Linked DNA regions of Homo sapiens: region 2 is linked to region 1. Evidence: promoter capture Hi-C in 16 types of primary human blood cells and fetal thymus (Javierre and others, 2016). All regions are on one chromosome and are shown on one strand. Each heading gives the region's core, a stretch centred on a gene start or on the middle of the fragment in contact. The rest is flanking DNA. Distances are from core to core; before and after follow the strand shown. Region 1 holds the start of KRT85 (keratin 85). Region 2 holds the start of KRT76 (keratin 76).

Region 1 (2,513 bases), core at 4-2,503:
AACAGCAGCATGATGGCAGTGTTTGGTTATGGAAGGCTTCCTGGAGGAGGAGTCACCCTCTGAGGAAGCTCATCGGCTCTTCTTCCTTAAGTTCCTAACACTTGGGTGTCTGGCTAACCTTCCTGGGGGCAGACCCACATCCCCAAGGTTTGTACTCCATAAACATTAAAAGAATAGCACTTGTTATCCTAATAAGTGTCCCAAGGACACACAGGGAAGCAGAAACTAGAAGGATGGGGCTCCCAGAACCCCCAGGAGCCAGAAGTCATAGCCACCTTAGACAAGAATAAACCACTATCCCACTTCCAGCTTTGTGCAATGCAGTCTCTAAACACTCCTCTAGGGATGACAATTCAAGGGCTGGCCAACAGAAGGAATACCTCTTGTAGCTGGTGGTCTGGGAAGGGAGACTCACATGACCTGTTTCTTCTTAAAGAGCAAAGCAAAGGTGCCCACAGCAAATTTATAGCCCCCAGGTTATCCCAAGGTTGAGTTCTCCAATCCTTTTGACCGAATGGAAGAAAGTGGCTAGAGGGAGTCTCCCCATAATCCGCAAGTAGCCATTATTGTGGCCACTGAGAGTTCTGTGGTTTGCACTTTTGCTGGGTGAGAAGTGAAAGCTCTGGACCAGCGCCTTCTGGGCTGGAATCCAGAAGGTTCCAAGAGATCATCTGCCCCAGCCTTTTATCCTGGCACGGGCATGGTCAAAATGACCGCTCTGGTCCTGAACCACCTTCCAAGCAATGCTGCCTAGATGGGGTGGGATTCGCCTGACCTATTGGCCCCTGAAATGCAATGATTTACTTGAGAATGTGTCCTCTGTGGAACCAGATAGATGAATGCAATGATCCCCCAAGTCTCACCTAACCCAGGACCCTCCAACCTCTCCCTTGAGACAATGGCTCCTGCCTGTATCCCAAACCCAGCCACCCCCAGGCTGTTGTGGAGTTCAAATCCGTCTCCAAGTGTGGGTTGAGGCCATCTCACAGAAAGACTGTGAGAAAATTAATTACTTAATGTATGTAAACGAGCTTTGAAGATGAAAAGTTCAAATGCAGTCTCCTTAATAACATCTTCAAGACTTCAGGGAGCCCCAGAGTCGCTGCTGAGCTCACCTTTAAGATGAGTCCGTGGGGAGTTGCTGGCAAACTCCCCAAGCCCATAAACAACATAAAATGGCTTTCCACTCCTTTTATGCAGCCAACCCCAGCTCTCCCCACCAATAAAAGGACCAGGGAGGATCAGAGAGAGCAGAAGGATCCTGAGCCTCGCACTCTGCCGCCCGCACCACCTTCCGCTGCCTCTCAGACTCTGCTCAGCCTCACACGATGTCGTGCCGCTCCTACAGGATCAGCTCAGGATGCGGGGTCACCAGGAACTTCAGCTCCTGCTCAGCTGTGGCCCCCAAAACTGGCAACCGCTGCTGCATCAGCGCCGCCCCCTACCGAGGGGTGTCCTGCTACCGAGGGCTGACGGGCTTCGGCAGCCGCAGCCTCTGCAACCTGGGCTCCTGCGGGCCCCGGATAGCTGTAGGTGGCTTCCGAGCCGGCTCCTGCGGACGCAGCTTCGGCTACCGCTCCGGGGGCGTGTGCGGACCCAGCCCCCCATGCATCACTACCGTGTCGGTCAACGAGAGCCTCCTCACGCCCCTCAACCTGGAGATCGACCCCAACGCACAGTGCGTGAAGCAGGAGGAGAAGGAGCAGATCAAGTCCCTCAACAGCAGGTTCGCGGCCTTCATCGACAAGGTGGGTGAGGCCTGAGACGGCCCAGAGAAGCCTCCAGCCCTGTCCTCCCTTGGGGAGGTCCCAGTCTGCTGAGGAGACAGGATGGCTGCCGGTTTGAGGCAGCAGAGGGAATGACGTGCAGACCCATACAGGTGGAAGGGTCAGTTTCCATCACTTAACTCCCGCAGCATTTAACGAGGTCCAGGTGTGGTCTAGAAATTGAGCCTGTGATCCAAAGTGTGTGCATGTGTGTGTGTGTACATGTGTGTGTGTGTAGCGGTGTGTGCGCCTGTACGTATGTTAGTGTGTGGTGTGTATATGTGTGTGTGTACATGTGTGTGAGCATATGTGTGTGTATGCATGTGAGTGTGTACATGTGTGTGAGCGTGTGTGTGTTTCTTGAGCCAAGACGACATAGGACTATCAGAACTGTGTCTGAAAAACCAGACTGGGCAGCAGGTGCTGGAAGAGTGGGAGATAACGGGGAGACCAAAAGACCTTGTGGCTCCTAGCCAGGCAGCCCGTGAAGGGGCTGGGGTAATGCCCACAGCCATGCTGCCTCTCCCAAGTCCTTGCTGCATCACTCAGCAGTGTGAGACCCCAGGCAGGTTACTCTGCTGAATAACAGGACTGCCTCATCCACCTGTGAGGAATTAATGAGTCCATGCATGAAACATGATGGCAAATAGTCAGCACTCAATACATGTTAGCTGCTACTATCATTATTTTCCAAGGACAGTGGTAGGTGAGGAGGTGTGACAGCCAACCCAGGCCTGGCAGCCCCTT
Region 2 (2,513 bases), core at 6-2,505, 410 kb before region 1:
TGACCTGGAGGGCTTGTTAAAAATGCAAACTCTCAACCCTTTCCTCTGAAGATTTTCATTCATAGGGCTGGGGTGGGAGCTGGTTTTAGGTATTTGCATTCTTAGACATCAGTCATCAGTCAGTTAACACGTTTGTGCTGTGCTTACCCTATGCTAGGAGCTGGACATTTAGGATAATTTAGAATGGGCAGGACTCAAGCCTTGCCCTCAAGAAGCTCAGGGACCGGAGGGGTATGGACAAGTAAGCAGGTAAGTATACTTTATGTCAGGTTCACGATGGGAAAAGTACAGGGTATGGTGGGAAGACAAGGAGGGGCATCTGACCCAGACCAGGGGGTAAAGCAGGGAGGGGATCCCCTCCAGAAGATCTGAGTTGGGGCCTAGACACAAGATACACTGTCCTCCTAAGATGAATGGGGTGCTTGAGCCGACTCTACCAGCCAGCTGGAGGGTTACCAGATTCTGTCTCCTCTTGCTTCTGGGTCCAGAAATTGCCTGCTGTCAGTCTAGGATGGTGGGGGGAGGGCTTGGTCTGAGGCTCTCCACAGTGCATGCCCCCTCTTCTTCCCAAACCTCATACTTGTTTGCTCCCTGTTCCAGGAGCTAGACGTGTTTACCTCCACTGTAATTTCTTCCCCATAAGTAGCATTTCTCAGCCCAAACTCCAGGTTTGCTGAGATGGATGCCTTTGGCTGAGGTGCTGGCAGAGCAGACTCTATGGGTCTGGGCCCCTCTCACTTCCGCTCCCACTCCAGGCCCTCTGAAGAGTTGGGAACAGGTGACATGCCACTGGAAGAAAAGGCCTAATGATGGCAGAGACGGGCGCAGCCACTGTGGGAGCCTGTGGACACTGTGGTGCTGCAGGGAGGGACCCAGCCCACTCAGAAGAGGTTGCCTGGTCCTCACCCCCCTGTGTCAGGGAGCTCATGGCTCCGGATCACCTGGTGTCTAAAGCTGCTTCCTCCTGCTGGATCAGGTGCTGCTTGGGTTCCCTGAAACCCTTGAGGACAGCACAAAAAGGGAGGGAGGAGAGCTCCAGCATTTTGTCAACTGAGGCAAGTTTAGGTGATTAAGCTAAGAAAGCAAAGCCACTCTGGCCCAGAGGATTATCTCTGAGGTGTGTTGGGAACCAAGAAGTAACTTAATGCCTACGAGGCAAACCAAACCCAAGATGATTCTCAACTAATTGCTCGCCTCTCCTTTTGCCAAGCCAAACTCCCTGTTATATAAAGGCCAGTCTCCTCTCTTGTCCCTATCCCTCTCAGCTCTTGCTAAGTGATCACTAGCTTGCCTCCAAGCTCTCTCACTATGAACAGACAAGTTTGCAAGAAATCCTTCAGTGGCAGGAGCCAGGGTTTCTCTGGCCGCTCTGCTGTGGTCTCCGGCAGCAGCAGGATGAGCTGTGTGGCCCGCTCTGGGGGAGCTGGTGGAGGGGCCTGTGGCTTCAGGAGCGGAGCAGGCAGCTTTGGCAGTCGCAGCCTCTACAACCTGGGCAGCAACAAGAGCATCTCCATCAGCGTGGCAGCTGGCAGCTCCCGGGCTGGAGGCTTTGGGGGAGGGCGGAGCAGCTGTGGCTTTGCAGGTGGCTATGGAGGTGGCTTTGGGGGCAGCTATGGTGGTGGCTTTGGTGGTGGCAGAGGAGTAGGTAGTGGTTTTGGAGGGGCTGGTGGCTTTGGTGGAGCTGGTGGCTTTGGTGGTCCTGGTGTATTTGGTGGGCCTGGCAGCTTTGGTGGTCCTGGTGGCTTTGGCCCTGGGGGCTTTCCTGGGGGAATTCAGGAAGTGATTGTAAACCAGAGTCTCCTGCAGCCCCTCAATGTGGAGATCGACCCCCAGATTGGGCAAGTAAAGGCCCAGGAGCGGGAACAGATCAAGACCCTCAACAACAAGTTTGCCTCCTTCATCGACAAGGTGAGGGCAAGGCCAAGAGGTGCTGTGGAGGGTTTGGGGTGCCCAGGGGTCGGTGTAGAAAGATGCCATGGGGACTTGTGAGACACAGGGCAGGGGCGCTTGGCTCTTGTCCTGGTGCTGTCTTGGTCCCTACAGGACAGTGATCATGCCCCTTTCACTTTTTGGGCCTTCTTTTTCCAGCTGTGAAATGGGGGGAAGAATTCCTGGTCCTGGTTTCCTGCTAAGAATGAGATGAGGGTAAATGAAGTGGGGGTCCAAACATGCTCTTAGCTTTTTGAAGAATGAGCCATTTTAGTCATGAAATTATTGCAGTTACTTTAATTTCTCCTGAAAAGCAATTGCTTGATAATCCAAAGTAGCTGGTAATCAAAACCTTGTGTTAGCACAGATCTTGAGGCTGCATCTAAATGAGGTGCATTGGCAGCTGCCTTACCTTCCAGATGATGCTGTGCTTCAGCCAATAATTAAACTGAGCTGTCCATGCTGGGGCAGAGGAGGGTGTTCTGGGTCTGTGTGGGACTGAGCCCAGGATCTGAAGTGAATTCTAGTTCAGCTGCAAGCTGAATAACTGAAAGGAGGTCTTCCTATGTGAAACTTCTAAAGAA

What was found. The method cuts DNA at HindIII sites, captures the fragments that hold promoters and counts their contacts. A CHiCAGO score of 5 or more calls a contact.
Region 2: a contact is called between the fragment with the promoter of KRT76 here and the fragment with the promoter of KRT85 in region 1, in 2 of 17 cell types (megakaryocytes and erythroblasts). The highest score is 5.0, in megakaryocytes.

Annotation. Positions count from the first base shown.
Region 1 is chr12:52,366,221-52,368,733 of GRCh38, reverse strand. It overlaps KRT85 (keratin 85), which reads left to right and starts at 1,253. Exons shown (of 9, transcript NM_002283.4): 1 at 1,253-1,748. The coding sequence starts at 1,329. The HindIII fragment of the contact is 4,446 bases long and covers 1-2,513 here.
Region 2 is chr12:52,776,087-52,778,599 of GRCh38, reverse strand. KRT76 (keratin 76) reads left to right here and starts at 1,255. Exons shown (of 9, transcript NM_015848.4): 1 at 1,255-1,908. The coding sequence starts at 1,309. The HindIII fragment of the contact is 4,392 bases long and covers 1-2,513 here.